Regions from separate parts of the Homo sapiens genome. Here regions 1, 2, 3, 5, 6 and 7 are each linked to region 4. The links are contacts of gene promoters, found by promoter capture Hi-C in blood cells and fetal thymus (Javierre and others, 2016). All regions are on one chromosome and are shown on one strand. Each heading gives the region's core, a stretch centred on a gene start or on the middle of the fragment in contact. The rest is flanking DNA. Distances are from core to core; before and after follow the strand shown.

Region 1 (2,700 bases), core at 67-2,566, 170 kb before region 4:
GGCAGCATCTGACAGATGCTCACTCTCTGTGATTTACTTTCCTCACTTGGCTCCCCTGACCCAACCTCTTGGTTTCCTCTCACCTCACTAACCAAGACCATGCCTCCTCACTCTTTTGCTGGAGCCTCCTCTTACCGCCTAATGCTGCAAACCCCAGGGCTTAGTCCTTAGTCTTAGTTTGTCTACAATCACTCCTTTGGTTATCTCTTTCTGTCTGATGGCTTAAATTTCATCTATGTACCAACAACTCCCAAATTTACATCTCCACTCTAGACCTGTCTCCATAACTCAGATTTGTACATGTATTTCCTCTTTGGTGTCTATCAGATGTCTCAAAAATAAGTCTCTGCTCAAATGTTACCTTCTCAGCAAAACCCTGACCATACTTATAACCCAAATCCTCCTTATACTGCTTTTTACCTCCCTAAGTACGTATCACCTTATAATATGCTGTATTACTCACCTATATCTGTGTACCTCTGCTAGAATGTAATGTCTATAAGGGAAAGAAACTTCCCTGTGTTTTGTTCACTAATGTATTCCAAGTGCCTACAATACTGCCCAGCATATAGAGTAAGCAAGCAACATTCATTCGTTAAATATATGAATGCTAATCTTCAAGTAAATGTTTGGTCATTAAGATATTAGTTCTTAACCCTCTAAAAAAAAAAAAAAAAAACAAAGCCAGGTGCAGTGGCTCACGCCTATAATCACACCACTTTGGGAGGCCAAGGTGGGAGGATTGCTTCAGCCTGGGTAATATAGTGAGACCATCTCTAAAAAAATTTTTAAATTAGCTGGGCATGGTGGTATGGGGCTGTGGTCCCAGCTGCTCGGGAGGCTGAGGTAGGAGGATCACTTCAGCCCAGGAGGTCAAGGCTGCAGTGAGTCATGATCGTGCCACTGCACTCTAGCCTGGGCAACAAAGCGAAACCCCACTTCAAAAAATAAATAAAAGAAAAAATATTATAAAAGCATCCATATTTTGCCTATAATACACAAATAAGTTTTAGAGCCAGCATCTACTGTCACTATGTGAAAGATGTGGAAGTTAACATTTTGACTTCTCCACTCCCCCAAATATTTTATAGCTAGTTTTATATTAAATGAATTCACTGCTCATTTCTAGTTTTTTTAAAATCAGTTTCTCCATTCTAGGGTTCTTTCTATTGATTGATCCTTTCATCTGCTAGATTCAATACCAAATAGTTCCCCCATCCCTGTCAAGAAAGGCCAATGGGTACTACAGTCCCTGAATTCCTGAATACTTGAAAATGTTGGTCCATGGCCTTTACTTGAAGAATGAATTGGCTGAGTACAAAACTCTTAGGTTACAATTTCCTCAGAACTTTGCAGACATTGTTCCACTGTCTCCTAGCATTGAGCATTTGTGTGTGGATGTCCCTGTAATTCTTGATCCTTAAAGTTCACTAAATAACAGTATGATTATGATTTGCTTGTTTTACCATTTTGACAATTTCTTGGAACAAGAAAGATCCTAATCTTTATCTCAGGAAAAAAATCTCCCATTATAAATATTTTTCTAGTTCATTAGTTGTTCTCTTCTGGAATTTCACTTATGTGTGTTTGTATCCTTTATCTTTCTCCATATCTATCCTCCTTCTCCATAAGCATTTTCACAATTTTATTTTCTTACAATTTCATTTTGTGATTTCTTAAAGCCCAATCCCTCTGTCCTTGGCTATATGCTAAGATACATTTTTTCTTATTGTTGCTTCTCTGGTGGCTTTTACCTTGATCATATTTTTTTCTCTTCAGCTTCTTTCTGAATTTTGTCAATTTCTACTCTAACTGCCCCTATTGCCTTGTAATATATGATAAATAAATGTTTTTGTTTTGGTAGAGATGGGATCTGTGTTGCCCAGGCTGGCCTCGAACTCCTGGCCTCAAGCAATCCTTCCACTTCCATTTCCTACAGCGCTGGGATTACAGGTACAAGCCACCACACCTGGCCTGTCTCAAGTTTTTAAAAAGACATCATATTGTTTGCAATTTCACTGAGCCTGCAGATCAGTGCTAACCAACAGAACTTTCTTTGATGAAGGAAATGCTCTGCACTAGCCACATGTAGCTATTGAGTACTTGAACTGTGACTGGTGCAACGCAGGAACTGTATGTTTAATTCATTTTAACAACTTTATTTAGCCAAATATGTGGCTAGTGGCTACTATTAGAGGAAATCTCCAAATTCAAAGGGCTCCCATGCATGAAAATACAATGCATAAACAAACAAACAAACCAACCTACAGCCAAACATGGTGGCTCACACCTGTAATCCCAACACTTTGGGAGGCCAAGGTGGGAGGATCACTTAAGCGAGAAGTTTGAGACCAGCCTGGACAACATAGTGAGACCCCATCTCTACAAATAAAATAAATTAGCTGGGTGTGGTAGCACATGCCTGCAGTCCCAGCTCCACAGGAGGCTGAGGCAGGAGGACTGTTTGAGCCCAGGAGTCCAAGGTTGCAGCAGTGAGCCATGATCACACCACTGCACTCTAGCCTGGGCAACAGAGCAAGATCCTGTCTCCCAAAAGAAAAAAAAAGGTAATACAAGGGGGAAAGGAGACAATTAAAATTTCTAGGGGAAAAAAGCTGTATGCAAAAATGTAATCAAAGTGATCAATGGTTATGCTGCAAATGATATTTTCACAATCAAAATAATGTAAGCACTGAGTAC
Region 2 (2,785 bases), core at 260-2,759, 230 kb before region 4:
TGCTTTCTCGGCTTCCTTTGCAGACAGTTCACACACGACCCAGGGCTCATCCATCAGCCATCTCAAAATCGGACTGATTACAAAGTGAGCAATGTGAAGAAGCAGGAAACACATGGAACCTACTTTCTGGTGAGGGTGGCAACGGCATCCAGAATCCAGAGGTTCTGGAATCCAGTTCTCAGTATCACAGGTGCAAGCTGTGGGTCCACATCCAGTGGTCTTCACTGGACAGCCAGTGATGCGGTTTGAGCAGTACTCCAGGCTGAGTAACATTTAAGTCCAACACTCCGGCCCTCTCAGAGATCTGTGAACTAATTTTCTTTGTTTGTTTGTTTGAGACAGATTCTCATTCTGTTGCCCAGGCTGGAACTCAGTGGCACGAACTCGGCTCACTGCAACCTCCGCCTCCTGGGTCCAAGCGATTCTCCTGCCTCAGCCTCCCGAGTAGCTGGGACTACAGGCACCCGCAACCACGTCTGGCTAATTTTTTGTATTTTTAGTACAGATGGGGTTCCACCATGTTGGCCAGGCTGGTCTCAAACTCCTGACCTCAGGTGATCTGCCCACCTCAGCCTCCCAAAGTGCTGGGCTTACAGGTGTGAGCCACCGCGCCTAGCCCGTGAACTAATCTTCTTTAATAAACTCCCTCTTGGGCCAGGCGCAGTGGCTCATGCCTATAATCCCAGCACTTTGGGAGGCCAAGGTGGGCGGATCATCTGAGGTCAGGAATTTGAGACCAGCCTGGCCAGCATGGTGAAACCCTGTCTCTACTAAAAATACAAAAATTAGCCGGGTGTGGTAACAGGTGCCTGTAATCTCAGCTACTTGGGAGGCTGAGGCGGGAGAATCGCTTGAACCCAGGAGGCGGAGGTTGCAGTGAGCCGAGATCGTGCCACTGCACTCCAGCCTGGGTGACAAGAGCAAAACTCTGTCTCAAAAATAAATAAAAATAAACTCCCTCTCTGCCTGCATGATTGTTCTAGTACTTTTGCTACATTACAAATCAACCTAAAACTTAGTGGATTATGTAGTTTAAGTAGGGTTTCTCGATCTCAGCACAGTTGGCATTTGGGACCAGATAATTCTTTGTCCTGGAGGCTGTCCTGTGTCCCTGCAGGATGTTTAGCAGCACCCCTGGTCTCCACCCACTGGAAGCAAGTACCACCATGCACCCACCTCCAAGTTATGACAATATCTCCAGGCATTGCCACACATCCCGGGGCGGGGTGCAGCGCGGTGCAAAATCTCCCCCAGTTGAGAATTACTGGCTTAAAGCAACATTCAAGTATTGAGGACTGTATTAGCTGGGAGGGTCTGGCTTAGTGTGATTCATGCAGTTGTAGTCAAATGGTAGTTAGAGCTGGACCAGTGGGGGATTGCAGCAGCGGGGGGCTGGCTGGAAATCTTTTTCTTCTCATGTAGCCTCAAGGGCTCTTCCCATGATCTCTCTGTATGAGCTTGTTTGGGCTTTGTCATAGCATAGTGACGTCAGGTTTAACTACTTGTATGGAAGCTCTGGGCTCCAAAGGGGTGTCTCAAAAAACTAGGTAATGCCTCTTAAGACCTAGCCTCAGAAATCACATGTTACCATTTCCACCATAGTCACAAGATTCAAGGGGAGGGAACACAGATGCCACCTCTCCATAGGAAGAATGCTAAAGTTACATTATAAGGTCATGTGGAATGGGAGACATTGTTGAGAATTTCTTTAGGAAAATCTCATCTGTCCCAGTGATCAACGTCACTACTCATCAGGAAAATGCAAATTAAAACCATGAGATACCTCTACAAATCCCCAGAATGGCTAAAAATAAAAAGGCTCATAATACTAGGTATTGGCAAGGATGTGGAGCAACTGGAACTTTCATACATTGCTGATGGGAATATAAATTGGTACAACCACTGTGGAAACATTATTTAACTGTATCTACTAAAGCTAAATACATGCCTGGTCTATGGCCCAACAATCTCTTTCCTAGGTTTGCACCTAAGAGAAATAAATGCATATGTATACCAAAAGACATGAATGAGAATGTTCCTAGAAGTTTTATTCAGCATAACTAAAAACTGGAAAAGAACCAAATGTCTGTCAATAGGAGAAGGAATATGTGATCTATTCATCCAATAGAACATTACACTGCAATACAAAAGGACAACTTATATACACAACAAGGGTGAATCTCCTAACTATATGTTCAGCAAAGGAAGTCAGACACATACGTATGGTGTAATTCCATGTATATAATGTTCAAAAACAGGAAAACTAATCGATGATGATAGAAATCAGAGGAAATGGTTACTTGTAGTGGGAAGAGGGGATTCATACTGGGAAGAGGCACAAAGAACTTCTGGAAGGCTGAGGAGGATCATCTATATTTTGATCCAGGTGGTGATTACACAAGTGTATACACATGTAAAAGTTAAGGTGTATAATGTATTAACTCTCTTTGAGTACTTTATTCCATTCCTCAGTAAAAAGTAGAAATAGGCCGGGCGCAGTGGCTCGTGCCTGTAATCCCAGCACTTTGGGAGGCCGAGGCAGGCGGATCACCTGAGGTCGGGAGTTCAAGACCAGCCTGACCAACATGGAGAAAGCCCATCTCTACTAAAAATACAAAAATTAGCTGGGTGTGGTGGCACATGCCTGTAATCCCAGCTACTCGGGAGGCTGAGGCAGAAGAATCGCTTGAACCTGGGAGGCGGAGGTTGCAGTGAGCCAAAATCGTGCCACTACACTCCAGCCTGGGCAACAAAAGCGAAACTCTGTCTAAAAAAAAAAAAAAAA
Region 3 (2,837 bases), core at 211-2,710, 160 kb after region 4:
GCATAGTCTCAGCTCACTGATACCTTTGTCTCTCAGGTTCAAGCGATTCTCCCACCTTAGCTTCCCGAGTAGCTAGGATTACAAGCGTGTGCCACCACATCCACCTAGTTTTTGTATTTTTAGTAGAGACAGGGTTTCACCTTGTTAGCCGGGCTGGTCTCAAACTCCTGACCTCAAGTGATCTGCCCGCCTCGGCCCAAAATATTGGGATTACAGGCGTGAGCCACCGTACCTGGCCCCCTACTGGTTCTTTAAATTATTAAGGCATGTTAATAAGTAACATCTTAATTTTATTAATTTCATAAACACTTATTTAAGACTTATATGTCAGGTACTATTCTAAGTGCTTTACAAATACCAATTTATTGGGGGTGGAGTGAGGATGGTTAATGAGTACAAAAATATAGTTAGAATGAATAAGACCTAGTATTTGATAGCACAGTAGGGTGACTGCAGTCAATAATACTTTATTATACATTTTATTTTTTATTATTTTATTTATTTTTTATTTTTTTGAGACAGATTCTCACTCTGTTGCCCAGGCTGGAGTGCAGTGGTGCTATCTTGGCTCACTGCAACCTCTGCCTCCCAGGTTCAAGCAATTCTCCTGTCTCAGCCTCCCGAGTAGCTAGGACTGCAGGCACACGCCACCACACCCAGCCTATTTTTTGTATTTTTAGTAGAGACGGGTTTCACCATATTGGTCAGGCTGGTGTAGAACTCCTGACCTCAGGCGATCCACCCACCTCAGCCCCCCAAAGTGCTGGGATTACAGGTGTGAGCCACCGCGCCTAGCTTATTGTACATTTTAAATAACTAAAAAAGCTATACTCTTTTAGGTATTGTAAATAAACTGAAAGAGTATAATTGGGATGCTTGTAACACAAAGAAAAATGATAAATGCTTGAGGTAAAGGATACTTCATTTACCCTGATGTGATTATTATGCATTGTATGCCTGAACCAAAATACCTCATTTACCCCGTAAATATATACACCTACTATGTACCCACAAAAATTTTATATATATATATATATATATATAAATTCTCATAACAAGCTGACAGATACCTTATTATCTTCATTTTTATCCGAGGAAACTAGAGAACTCCTGATATAGTCTTTTATCTGTCCATGTGTGGCTGAGAGGTCTCTTGTTTAAATTTTTCTGAGACAGGATCTTTCTCTGTCATCCAGGCTGGAATCCAGTGGCGTGATCATAGCTCACTGCAGCCTCAACCTCCTGGGCTCAAGCAATCCTTCCAGCTCAGCCTCCCGAGTAGCTAGGATTACAGGCATGTGCCATCACATTTTTTCCACTTTTTGTAGAGGCAGGGTCTCACTTTTTTGCCCAGACTCCGTACAGTCTTAAAACATATCTTCTTTCCCCTTTCTTTGTGATTTACCCACTTTGGCCCAGCTCACCAGAGCCATCTGGGTGTCCCTCTGTCAACTGCTCTGTGTACACATCTAGAATTGAGCAACACTGGGCTAGTAGGCAAAAATAAAGGGAAGTAAAAAATTGCCTCAAATGACCCAGACTAGAGGATGGAAAGTAAAAACTAGGCTAAAGGCAAAATAAGTAACAGGCCAGACAGTAATTAATGCAAACATAATACAAGTCCTATAGTAGTATTTAAAATGATCACATTTCCCAAAGAACCCAGGAAAAGGAAAACTGGCGTGTATCTGGTATTACTTAGGGGACAGAATTGCTGAGTTTTCCAGTTTATTAGTTCAGTTCTGTATATATTTTTTAAGTCACCATTCTGCCAGGCCTCGAAAATTGAGATTGGTTAAGACAGTGGTCACAACCACTGAGATGCGTGTAATATATTATTCAGTACTAGTGCAAATACAGAGATAATCACAGACCATTATTGAAGGTACAGAGGAAGGAGATTAGTTTAATTGAAATCGAGGAGGTGGGAGCAGTCAGGGAAGGACTTCTGAAGTGAATCTTGAAGGAGCAGTGTTAGCCACTCCAAAATGTGGGGGTGGGACTGCTGGAAGCAGGCATTGCACACTGGGCCCAGCATGATCAGGCTTAGAGGTGTGACTTGGTATTGGATGTTTGAGGAACCCTAAGTAGATAGGGAGTGCTGAAGATGAGATTGAGAAGGAGACATGAGGGCTTTGTGTAAGTCATGACCTAGCTAAAATTCATTTGTTAATTCATCCAGTATTTTTTTTTTTTTTTTTTTGAGACGGAGTCTTGCTCTGTCGCACAGGCTGGAGTGCAGTGGCGCGGTCTCGGCTCACTACAAGCTCCGCCTCCTGGGTTTACGCCATTCTCCTGCCTCAGCCTCCCGAGTAGCTGGGACTACAGGCGCCTGCCACCACACCTGGCTAATTTTTTTTTTTTTTTTGGTATTTTTAGTAGAGTTGGGGTTTCACCATGTTAGCCAGGATGGAATACATCCAGTATTTATCAACTCCTGGCAGTGTGATTTTTGTTTTTTTGTTTTTTTGTTTTTTGAGACAGAGTCTCGCTCTGTTGCCCAGGCTGGAGTGCAATGGTGTGATCTCGGCTCACTGCAACCTCTGCCTCCCAGGTTCAAGCGATTCTCCTGCCTCAGCCTCCTGAGTAGCTGGGATTACAGGCACACGCCACCACGCCTGGCTAATTTTTGTATTTTTAGTAGAGACGGGGTTTCACCATGTTGGTCAAGCTGGTCTCGAATTCCTGACCTTGTGATCTGCCTGCATCGGCCTCCCAAAGTGCTGGGATTACAGGCGTGAACCACTGCGCCTGGCCTGTTTTTGTTTTTGTTTGGAGACAGGGTCTCATTCAGTCACCTAGGCTGGAGTGTAGTGGCATGATCATAGCTCATTGCA
Region 4 (2,721 bases), core at 116-2,615:
AGTGGTGCAATCTCGACTCACTGCAACCTCTGCCTCCTGGGCTCAAGCCATACTCCTACCTCAGCCTCCTGAGTAGCTGGGACCGCAGGCCCGCACCACCATGCCAGCTAATTTTTTGTATTTTTAATAGAGACGGGGTTTCACTATGTTCGTCAGGCTGGTTTCCAACTCCTGACCTCTAATGATCCTTCCGCCTCGGCCTCCCAAAGTGCTGGAATTACAGGCGTGAGCCACCACGCCTGGCCTCAATTTCTTAAAAAGCAAAAACAGGAGGGAGGAGGAGGGTATGCAGTATCCTAAATCCTCAGAACCCCTGGGGAAGAACCTCATTCCAACTCCACCAGCACTCCCAGGCCCAGGCTTCTAGCATGCTTCCGACCTCGCTAGCTGCTAAATAAATAGCTATTGAGGAATGTGTATTCTCAAATACTTAGGCTAGAGGGCTAAGAAAAGACAGCTTCCATCTACCTCTGTGGGACTCTACCAGTGTGAAAGGATACTCTCAAGGTATTTAACAACTCCCATTACAGTCCAGAAATTGGTGGGGAAAGTTAAAATATATTTTCTTTTCTTTTTTTTTTTTGAGACGGTGTTTTTGCTCTGTTGCCTGAGCTGGAGTGCAGTGGCTCACGCTTGTAATCCCAGCACTTTGGGAGGCCAAGGCGGGCGATCATGAGGTCGGGGGTTTGAGACCAGCCTAGCCAACACAGTGAAACCCCGTCTCTACTAAAAATACAAAAGTTAGCTGGGCACGGTGGCGAGCGCCTGTAATCCCAGCTACTCGGGAGGCTGAGGCAGGATAATCGCTTGAACCCGGGAGGCGGAGGTTGCAGTCAGCCGAGATCCACTGCACCCCAGCCTGAGCGACAGACTCCATCTCAGAAAAAAACAAGCAAACAAAAACAAAACAAACAAACAAACAAAAACAAGAAAAGAAAAGTTAGCCGAGCATGGTGGGGCACGTCTGTGGTCCTAGCTATTCGGGAGGCTGAGGTGGAAGGATTGCTTGAGCCCGGGAGGTCAAGGCTGCAGTGAGCTGAGATCATGCCTCTGCCCTCCAGCCTGGCCGAGAGTGAGACTGTCTCAAAAAAAAAATAATAATAATAACATAAAAATAAGAAATAAGAGTGAAAGAGGCATCATTGATTGAAGATAACTTGGGGAGGGGTTCATATAGTAAACGTATAGATTGATTGAAAGACACAGCCCAGTTTTAAAACTACATAAATATCCAAAAAAGCACATTTGAAATTCCACGAGACCTTGCAATGTCAAAATAAGGAGGGACGGGAAGCACGGTGATCACACAATGGCTTATGACATACACTCACTACATTTATACCTGGTACAAAGAGCGCAGAAACGTTTCAACTCTTGCTTGAATCAAGAACAGAAGCCTCTCTTTAGACAGGTCAGTGCCACATAGTAATGTATAGCTTAAAATGTTAGTTAATGTACAAAAATCCAAACTCAGCGTTTAGATGTTCGGGAATAATGCATGAACATTTAAATATTCAGAAGTGGAATGTATGCATTTTTAAAGTTTATTTTATGATTTAATTTTAAAAATTTGTTTTAATGTGAAATTCTGGGGTAATTTGTCATGTAGTAATAGATACAAATATGGCAAGCAGGGATTTTTAAATAATGAACAGAAATATCTTAAAGGAGCTATTGGAAAAGATGGAAAGAAAGTGTGAACAACTTGGGAATTTCAGTGTCTTACAGTTTTTTTAAAGCTTGTTATAGTTTAAATCGGAATAAGGAAGCGTATTTCCAAAAGATTGAAGTGATTGTGTTATCTCTCCCACGAAGTAGTCTACTTCAGCAAAACAGTACACCGTGTGCTATTTTGGCCTCTTGGGAAAGATGGTATGTTCAAGTTTGCTAGAAAGAGATAATTATCGCTTTTAGCGACACCTCTCACGGAAAGTTCATCGGGATATTGGTCTAGAGAGAAAATGGCGGCGGGGGGTGGGGGTGGGGGAAGCCGAAATACCTCAGTTTAGGATCTGCTATGGGCAATGGATGCCCTAATTTAAGGTTAATTGTAGATCCACGGGCTTCCAACTGTGTATTTCCGTCATCTACACTTTTCCCAGAAAGAGATGCCATAATAAATTTACAAAACAGTCCTATAGTCTAGTTTTATATTCTTGTCAAGAAAAGGTAATATTTAAAAAGTACTAGCTAGAATTCTATAAAAAACGAACAACAAAAATCACTGCCCTCTGAATGTTCGTTCTTGATTATTTTGACGCAAGTAGAGACAGCTTTTTTAAATCCGGCATTATCTCCGGGTGGTGCAGACATGCAATTTTTTATGAATTTTCCCACCCTTGGGAAATCGATTTCTGAAACGTGTAATTGTTGTGCAGTAAGCCAAGTGGACAGTGACGCAATAGTCCACTGCAAGTTGCCTTACAAAAAATGATGTCATTTGGCGCAGATCTAGTCACTTTTATAACAGGTAGCTATGGAAAAGCTCCCTCCACGTTGTCCCCGATTCCCCCACCCCCACCGTGGCCAAGATGCAAAAAGACACTTTCCTGGCTTCCTAGCCCTCAACTTGTCGAGGGTGGGCGCACCGCAGTGGCTCAGGGCCCATCGCTCGTGCAGGCGGAGAGAGACCGCTGCAAGGGGACGAGGACAGCTGAGTGTCCTCAGCCCCGACGGCGGCGCCGCGGGGGAAGCTGCGTCGGGCCCAGTCCAGGGCCGCGA
Region 5 (2,933 bases), core at 147-2,646, 210 kb after region 4:
CAGACTCCAATAAAACCCTTTGGTGCCGGCTGGGCAAGGTAGCTCATGCCTGTAGTCCCAGCACTTTCCGAGGCAGGTGGATCACTTGAGGCCAGGAGTTTGAGACCAGCCTGACCAACATGGTGAAACCCCATCTCTACTAAAAACACAAAAATTAGCCAGGTGTGGTGGCACGCGCCTGCAGTCTCAGCTACTCAGGAGGCCAAGGCAGGAGAATCACTTGAGCCCAGGAGTTTGAGGCTGTAGTGAGCCGTGATCATGCCACTGCACTTCAGCCTGGGTGACAGAGCGAGATTCTGTCTCAAAACAAAACAAAAAAAGGCTTTGGCGGTGAATCTCTGATAGGCTTCTCTGGGCAGAAGCATTGCACACGTGTGGCTTCAGTTTTGCTGCTGGAGAAGGGAGCATGCTCAACGTGTGCCCTCCCGGGTTGGGAGGGAGAAAGCATGGGAAGCCTGTGTGTGGATTTCTCCAGACTCTGCTGTGTCTTTTTCCTTTGCTGGTCCTGTCATGAATCCTTTGTTAGGATAAACCTAAGGCATGAGAACATGTATGTTGAGTCCTTTGAGTCATTTTAAGCAAATCTTGAGGACCCACCACCGAAAACAGCATGTTAAGATGGTGTTTGTTTTATGTCATGCCATCTTGCCATCAGCTTTAGAAGAACATAAATAAAAGGACCATTATATTTACATTAAATATTTCCAGGTCACAAGACATTAAAAAAACTGTTTTTATTCATCTTCTTCAAGCAAAGAGAAAGTAGTTTTTGAAAGCCACAGAAAACTCTAAGCTCCCTTGTTTAGACCAAATTAGTGATTGGGTTTTTTTCCTGATTCTCACAGTAGAGTCTTTCTTCCTTCCCTCACGCTATGGAGGCAAGCGGTTTGGGCTGGTTCATAAGTAAATAGGTCATAAACTGCACTCCATTCAAAAGTGACGTCTTTATGAAAGCATTTATTTGTCCTACAGAGAGAGCACTGGCTCATTTCAAATATTGTTCTCAGCCTAGATCAGAATGCTAAAGAGCACACATTGCACATTTTGTTTTAAACACAATAGTTTAATTGTTTGTTTCTTAGTGGTGCCATAAATATTTCCCTGGGAAAGCACTACCAAATAGGTGAGACTTTTAGAAGTCTGTGTGGAATCATACACCTAAATGTCGTAACTAAATCTGTTAGACTTTCAGAAGACAGCATAGGAATAAATCTTGGAAAAGGAGTAAATCGTGATCTTGGGTTAGGCAGTGGTTTTTTAGATACAACACCAAAAGCACGGGTGACAAAACAGATAAATTGGACTACCTCAGAATGTAGAAACTTTTGTGCTATAAATTATACCATCAAGAAAATAAAAAGGCAGTTGGGTGTGGTAGCTCATGCCTGTAATCCCAGCACTTAGGGAGGCCAAGGCAGGTGGATCACTTGAGCCCAGGAGTTTGAAACCACCCTGGGCAGCTTAGCAAGACCCTGTCTCTACCAAAAAAATATCAAAATTAGCCAGGCGTGGTAGCACACACCTGTAGTCTCAGCTACTCAGGAGGCTGATGGAGGATTGCTTGAGCCCAGGAGGTTGAGGCTGCAGTGGGCCATGAGCCTGGGTGACAATAAAACCCTTTCTTTAAAAAAACAAGCTGAATGCAGTGGCTCACACCTGTAATCCCAGCACTTTGGGAGGCCGAGGTGGGAGGATTGCTTGAGCCCAGGAGTTCGAGACCCACCTGGGAAACATAGCAAGACCTCATTTCTATTAAAAAAGTAATAAAGAAAAAAACCCATGGAGTACAGGAAAATATTTGTACATAGATCTGATAAGAGGCTCGCATATACAGAATATTTAAAGAACTTTTACAACTCAACAATAAGAAAACAACCCAATTAAAACTGAGCAGAGGGCCAGGCGCGGTGGCACAAGCCTGTAATCCCAGCACTTTGGGAGGCCAAGGCGGGTGGATCATCTGAGGTCAGGAGTTCAAGACCAGCCTGGCCAACATGGTGAAACCCCGTCTCTACTAAAAATACAAAAATTGGCCAGGCGTGGTGGTTCACGCCTGTAATCCCAGCACTTTGGGAGGCCAAGGCGGGTGGATCATTTGAGGTCAGGAGTTCAAGACCAGCCTGACCAACATGGTGAAACCCTGTTCTACAAAAAATGCAAAAATTAGCCAAACGTGGTGGCACACGCCTGTAATCCCAGTTATTGGGGAGACTGAGGCAGTAGAATCCCTGGGAGGTGAAGGTTGCAGTGAGCTGAGATCGTGCCACTGCACTCCAGCCTGGGCAACAGAGCGAAACACTGTCTCAAAAAAAAAATTAGCCGGGTGTGGTGGCATACGCCTGTACTCTCAGCTACTCGGGAGGCTGAGGCAGGAGAATCACTTGAACCCAGGAGGCGGAGGTTGCAGTGAGTCGAGATTACGCCACTGTACTCCAGCCTGGGCGACAGAGTGAGACTCCCTCTCAAAAAATAAAACAAAGGATTTGAACAGACTCTTTTTTTTTTTTTTTGAGATGGAGTCTTGCTCTGTCACCCAGGCTGGAGTGCAGTAGCACGATCTCAGCTCACTGCAACCTCTGCCTCCTGGGTTTAAGCAGTTCTGCCTCAGCCTCTTGAGTAGCTGGGACTACTAGCGCACACCGCCATGCCTGGCTAATTTTTTGTATTTCAGCAGAGGTGGGGTTTCACCGTGTTGCCCAGGCTGGTTGCGAACTCCTGAGCTCAGGCAGTCTGCCCACCTCGGCCTCCCAAAGTGCTGGGATTACAGACATGAGCCACCGTGCCCAGCCTGACAGACATTTTTAAAAAGAAGATATACAAATGGCCAATAAACCCATGAAAAGCTGTTCAGCATCATTAGTCATCAGAAAAATGCGCATGAAAACCACAAGGTGTCATTTCATACCCACTAGGATAAAAAAGATAAGAACAGG
Region 6 (2,932 bases), core at 3-2,502, 210 kb before region 4:
CTGGTCTCGAACTCCTGACCTCAAATGATCTGCCCACCTTGGCCTCCCAAAGTGCTGGGATTACAGGTGTGAGCCAGGCCGGATCATATGGTAATTCTATGTTTAACTTTTTAAAAACCACCATACTGTTTTCCACAGCAGCTGCAACGTTTTACATTCCTACCAGCAATATACAAGGGTTCCAATTTCTCTGTATCCCCATAACACTTGTTATTTCCATTTTTTTATAATAACCATCCTGGTGGGTATGAAGTAACATCTCATTGTGGTTTTAATTTGCATTTACCTAATGACTAATGACGTTGAGCATCTTTTCATGTGCTTTTGGTCCATGTCTAAGTCTTCTTTGGAGAAATGTCTATTTAAGTCTTTTGCCCATTTAAAAATTGGGTCGTTTGCTTGTACTTGAGTTGTAGGAGTTCTTTATATTTTTTGGATATTAAACCCTCATCATATGTATGATTTTCAAAACTTTCCCCCATCTTTTCACTTTCTTGATAATGTCCCCTGAAACATGCAAGCTTTTAATTTAGATGAAGTTCAATTTATCTATTTTTTCTTTTGTTTCTTGTGCTTTTAGTGCCATATTTAGATAAATGAATGTCTTCATGAAATACAATAGAAAAATCACAATGTGGCCAGGCACAGTGTCTCATGCTTGTAATCCCAGCACTTAGGCCAAGGCGGGTGGGTCACTTGAGCTCAAGAGTTCGAGACCAGCCTGGGCAACATGGGGAAACCTTGTCTCTACAAAAAAAATATAAAAATTAGCCAGGCATGATGGTGTACACCTGTAATTCCAGCTACTCAGGAGGCTGAGGTGGCTGAGGTAGGAGGATCATTTGTGCCTGGGAGGCGGAGGCTGCAGTGAGCTATAATTATCCAACTGCACTCCAGCCTGGGCGACAGAGGAGACCCTGACTCAGAAAAAATCAGACTGGGCGCGGTGGCTCATGACTGTAATCCCTAATCCCAGCACTTTGGGAGGCCGAGGCAGGTGGATCACCTGAGGTCAGGAGTTCAAGACCAGCTTGGCCAACATGGTGAAACCGTCTCTATTAAAAATAAAAAAAATGAGCCTGGTGTAGTGGCAGGTGCCTATAGTCCCCAGCTACTCGGGAGGCTGAGGCAAGAGAGTCGCTTGAACCCGGGAGGCAGAGGCTGTAGTGAGCCGAGACTGTACCACTGCACTCCAGCCTGGGCAACAGAGTGGGACTCTATCTCAAAAAAAAAAAAAAAAAAAATTCACGATGCCTTACACATAGGGTAAACATTGTTTAATGAAACTCTTGTCTCAGTTACCTGTATCATGAATGAACATCTATGTAAAATGTATTTCTTCTTACAGGTCACAGTGAACATTTTTTGAAATTCATCAACGTGGAGTAATTCCCTGTCACATACTTAAATATTCTCCTTCTTCCTTCTACTTAAACACAGAAGCCTGTCACGGTGGGGAGCTTGCGCCCTTCCAAGGCAGCCTCCTGGCATTTAGATACAAATTTCAAATGGATCACATGCACCTAAATCCCTTCCAAATGACTGAAATCACAGGAAAAAAATTTTTTAATTATTTATGTATAATACCACTAGAAAGCCAAACACTATAAACCAAAAGATTTGAGGAACTCTTGAAGGAAAAACAGAAGGTGAGAACAAACCCAAGAGGAAACTGAGGAAGGAGACTGGAAAAATTGGGGAGCAATAGATGGAGTGTGCAGGGGTCATGGGACAATCTTCCAGGTGGTTAATTTGAAGACTACATGTGGAATATTCTCTCTCTTTCTCTCCCTCTTTCTCTCCCTTTCCCTACCCTCCCACCTCCGCCCCCGCTCAGCCCCCTCTTCGCCCCCTCTCCTCTCTCCCATTTTCTCTAAGGGCTTGTGCTTACTCTTTGCCTAAAACTGCCCCCGGGGCCACCATTCCCCAAGTGACAAAGGCAGCCCCACTCCACTCAACCCCATAATCCTCAAAACAAGCTTCTCCATCAGAGCCAGCATCCGTAGCCGCAAAAGCAGAAGATCTCACACAGCAAAAGGAGCACACAGACAAAAACCACAGGACACCTGAAGAAATCCATTGCCACGAAAGACAGGCACCAAGCTCAACCAACACAAGGAACAGCTTATGGAGAGATAGTTTTGTGTGTTTTTTTTCTTTCCACTCCACCTCAAGGAGCCTGCCACATCCCAAGTTAGGGGTGATAAGAGGGCTTTTTAAAAACGTAACTGATCACACCTGTAATCCCAGCATTTTGGGAGGCCAAGATGGGAGGATTACTTGAGGCCAGGGGTTTGAAACAGCCTGGGCTTAATATAGTGAGACCCCATCTCAAAAAAAAAAAACTAATTAAATGTTGAGAAGGAGACACGAACTCTTTCAGCATAATTAAGTTCAAAATATACACCAACAGGAAGTTCTCCTTCACAGAAATGTCTGATTGCTTTATAACTATTTCACCCACAAGTCACGGCATCACGATGAACTCTTCCACTGTCGACTTCCACCTTCAGGACCCTAAAGGTTTCTCCCCCTCACCTCTATCCAAGAGGGAAAGTGGATGGGCTACAATGTAACTGACAGTCCATGACAGAAGAGGAGACAGGAAGATGAAAGAGGATAACAGATAAAAAGACTAAGGAATATGGGGAAAGGGACAAAGATGGGAAGGAAATGGTTCAAGGAGGTCACTCTCTACTGACTGAAGGACCGGACACAGGTACATAAGATGAGTTGAATGGATAAGGGCCAACCTTCCAAGATCTTTAGACTCCATATGGCACAGAAGATGAAGGAAATAACCAACTTCGTATGTTTCCTTGGCTGAGGGTGTGGGCATGCTACACGTTTTACCTCTCTAATCACCCAGAATACTTTGCTTTTTCCCAAGTAGAAGACAAAGACAGGAAAAGGTCATGCAGGGGATAGTTCT
Region 7 (2,872 bases), core at 195-2,694, 240 kb after region 4:
CAAAAAATTAGCCAGGTGTGGTGGTGGGCGCCTGTAGTCCCAGCTACTCGGGAGGCTGAGGCAGGAGAATGGCGTGAACCCGGGAGGCGGAGCTTGCAGTGAGCCAAGATCACGCCACTACACTCCAGCCTGGGGGACAGAGTGAGACTCCATCTCAAAAAAAAAAAAAAAAGAAATCTCTCTCAGGATGGGGCATTAGTATTTTTACAGTGCTTTCTAGGCCATTCTAATGTGTAGCCCATACTGAGAATCACTGCTTTTGATTATCCAGAAAATGCTTATACTGATTATTCTTTGCAGTAGAATCACACAGAAACACCATATTCAATCATTCTTATAGAAACTGTGAGGTCCTGTGAGACTATGGCAGGAAGCCCCAGGGGTTTGAGAAATTGGTTTGGAGCTTGATTCCCAGGTCTAGTTGTGTGGCCTTGGGCAACTTAACTTCTCTTAGGTTTAGTTTCTCATTGTAAAAAGAAACTTATAATTGTACCAATCTCATACAGTCGTTGTGAGAATTAGATGAGATAATAATGTATACAAAGTGCTAAACTGAAAGCCTGGTTCCTGATTAGTGCTTAATAAATGTTAGCTCTTATCACTAGTTTTTTTCTTTTTCTTTTTTTTTTTTTTTTTTGAGACGTAATCTTGCCCTGTCGCTCAGGCTGGAATGCAGTGGCGTGATCGCGGCTCACTGCAACCTCCACCTCCCGGGTTCACGTGAGCCGAGATCGCGCCACTGCACTCCAGCCTGAGCAACAAAAGCGAAACTCTGTCTCAAAACAAACAAACAAACAAACAAACATGGCACCAGTCAAGGAAATAGAATTCTAGGAGCAGACATGGTCACCTGCAGACTCAGAGGAAGGCCATGGCTGTCACAGTCAGTGAGGAAGTTGCTTCACTCCTAGCAGGAGAAGGTGGCTGGTTTCCCAGGGCCTGGCAGTTCCATCAGTTGCTGGTGAGCAGCCACCTGCTTCAGTGAACCGTGATGAGCATCATCCATTCTAGGCCCTGCTGGGTCCCCAGTGGAAAGGAGACTCACAGGAAGGGGTAGAGTGGGTCGAAGGCATTAATAAATCATTAGGTTTCTTCTGAATTGCTTCTTCAGCATTTCTGTAAAAAAGACTCTACTTTCTTTCCCTAGAAAGACTACTGTGTGGAATCTAAGCGGTTGATGATCTTGGACTCTGGTTTTCCATGTTTATCATTGTTTGTTGTTTCTTTTCAGATAATTTCCCCGTAACATGTTTTCTTACTTGCCTGGTGACTTCAAACTTTATAGATTTGCTTTATAGTTCAGTTTTTAAAGAGGTCTCTTTGTAATTGAGTTGAGCTAGTAGTGGGCTAATGCTGTGGTGTTTCAGCTTCTTCTTTTTTTTTTTTTTTTTGAGACAGAGTCTCACACTGTTGCCCAGGCTGGAGTGCAATGGTGCAATCTCTGCTAACTGCAACCTCCACCTCCTGGGTTCAAGTGATTCTCCTGCCTCAGCCTCCTGAGTAGCTGGGATTACAGGGGCCTGCCACCACCCCGGGCTAATTTTTTGTATTTTTAGTAGAGACAGGGTTTCACTATATTGGCCATGCTGGTCTCGAACTCCTGACCTCGTGATCTGCCCGCCTTGGCCTCCCAAAGTGTTGGGATTACAGGCGTGAGCCACTGCTCCCAGTTGGCGTTTCAGCTTCTAAATTTTACAGCTGGCTGGGCGCAGGCTCATGCCTGTAATCCCAGCTCTTTGGGAGGCTGAGGGGGGAGGATCATTTGAGGCCAGGAGTTGGAGACCAGCCTGGGTGATGTAGCAAGACCTCATCTCTACAAAAAATTAAAAAAAAAAAAAAGAAAAGCTGGGCGTGGTGGTGCGTTCCTGTGGTCTAGCTACTTGGGATGCTGAGGTGGGAGGATTGCTGGAGCCCAGAAGGTCGAGGTTGCAGTAAATTGTGATTGCACCACTGCACTCCAGCCTGGGCAATGGAGTGAGAACCTGTCTCAAGAAAAAAAAAAAAAAGAAAACAACTAAAAACAAATAAAAATTAAAATAAATAAAATTTACACTTAAGGGGCTTCTTTAAAGTGGATACAAAACTTCATAAAAGCCTTCATCTTCACAACACTGGGCCTTTAAGGCTAAGTTCTAAGAAAGATGAGGAAACAAAGAGTTATATTGTAACTTGGTGGTTAATTTAATTTATTCCTATATTTAACCACAGTCAGCATGTAGTTGTTTTCCTCTAAGAGGCTCACTTTCCAAAACACAATTTGCAAAATATCTTACTTCTCCACAAGGCTCTTTGTGTTTAGTTACCCTTTCATTTTTGCCAGAGTTTCTCTTATGTAGTTACTTGCCTGCCTAATAGGGCCCCTGGTTGATCATTGACTCTGTAAGCCCATTTTCATGGCATGCTCTCTGAGCCACCAATAAATCCCAAAGCCCTCCTGTATTAAATATAATACAGGGCTACATTTTTATATGTGGCTGCCTTCTAATCTAGGAAGCCATAACAGACACTGATACAAAGGCTTGCAGGACAACATTACCTTTGACTGAGGAGCTCAGTACTGATTTGCTGGAGAACTCAGAGAGATACAGAGCATTGTTTTCAGGTATCTGACTTCTTTTGGAAAACATTTATCTTGGACATTAGTCTACAGTGGTTCTTATCAACTACTGTTTTCATTATTGTGGAAATTAGTCGGTTTAGGAATTTGGGCCAATGTCATGAATAATGAAAGGAGTTCACATATCTAGGGGGAAATGGTCTTTTTCTTTTTCATTTCAGTCCTTAAGAAAGCACTTGTTTACTTCTTTACCCCCTGGCAGTTTTAAGGGCTATTGTTTCTCTGCTCTAAAAATCCGTTGTATTAACACAGGAC

What was found. The method cuts DNA at HindIII sites, captures the fragments that hold promoters and counts their contacts. A CHiCAGO score of 5 or more calls a contact.
Region 1: a fragment that was not itself captured here is called in contact with the fragment with the promoter of KLHL15 in region 4 in 6 of 17 cell types (activated CD4 T cells, non-activated CD4 T cells, naive CD8 T cells and 3 more); the score reaches 7.1 in activated CD4 T cells.
Region 2: a contact is called between a fragment that was not itself captured here and the fragment with the promoter of KLHL15 in region 4, in 1 of 17 cell types (activated CD4 T cells). The highest score is 7.1, in activated CD4 T cells.
Region 3: a contact is called between a fragment that was not itself captured here and the fragment with the promoter of KLHL15 in region 4, in 2 of 17 cell types (neutrophils and activated CD4 T cells). The highest score is 5.9, in neutrophils.
Region 5: a fragment that was not itself captured here is called in contact with the fragment with the promoter of KLHL15 in region 4 in 1 of 17 cell types (monocytes); the score reaches 5.3 in monocytes.
Region 6: a fragment that was not itself captured here is called in contact with the fragment with the promoter of KLHL15 in region 4 in 8 of 17 cell types (activated CD4 T cells, naive CD8 T cells, naive B cells and 5 more); the score reaches 8.2 in activated CD4 T cells.
Region 7: a fragment that was not itself captured here is called in contact with the fragment with the promoter of KLHL15 in region 4 in 11 of 17 cell types (activated CD4 T cells, naive CD4 T cells, naive CD8 T cells and 8 more); the score reaches 14.0 in activated CD4 T cells.

What each region holds. Positions count from the first base shown.
Region 1 is chrX:24,196,463-24,199,162 of GRCh38, reverse strand. All of the region lies in intron 5 of ZFX (zinc finger protein X-linked), which reads right to left. Among named protein-coding and RNA genes, the nearest start is that of ZFX, 48 kb to the right of the region's middle. The HindIII fragment of the contact is 8,157 bases long and covers 1-2,700 here.
Region 2 is chrX:24,256,242-24,259,026 of GRCh38, reverse strand. No RefSeq gene overlaps it. Among named protein-coding and RNA genes, the nearest start is that of SUPT20HL2, 56 kb to the left of the region's middle. The HindIII fragment of the contact is 3,091 bases long and covers 1-2,785 here.
Region 3 is chrX:23,870,729-23,873,565 of GRCh38, reverse strand. All of the region lies in intron 4 of APOO (apolipoprotein O), which reads left to right. Among named protein-coding and RNA genes, the nearest start is that of APOO, 36 kb to the left of the region's middle. The HindIII fragment of the contact is 5,355 bases long and covers 1-2,837 here.
Region 4 is chrX:24,025,830-24,028,550 of GRCh38, reverse strand. It overlaps KLHL15 (kelch like family member 15), which reads left to right and starts at 1,365. Exons shown (of 4, transcript NM_030624.3): 1 at 1,365-1,411. RefSeq lists enhancers at 286-785, 1,993-2,496, 2,497-2,721 and a silencer at 2,664-2,721. The HindIII fragment of the contact is 3,234 bases long and covers 1-1,741 here.
Region 5 is chrX:23,820,567-23,823,499 of GRCh38, reverse strand. No RefSeq gene overlaps it. Among named protein-coding and RNA genes, the nearest start is that of SAT1, 39 kb to the right of the region's middle. The HindIII fragment of the contact is 3,324 bases long and covers 1-2,933 here.
Region 6 is chrX:24,237,830-24,240,761 of GRCh38, reverse strand. No RefSeq gene overlaps it. Among named protein-coding and RNA genes, the nearest start is that of SUPT20HL2, 75 kb to the left of the region's middle. The HindIII fragment of the contact is 1,458 bases long and covers 524-1,981 here.
Region 7 is chrX:23,788,151-23,791,022 of GRCh38, reverse strand. No RefSeq gene overlaps it. Among named protein-coding and RNA genes, the nearest start is that of SAT1, 6.4 kb to the right of the region's middle. The HindIII fragment of the contact is 7,227 bases long and covers 1-2,872 here.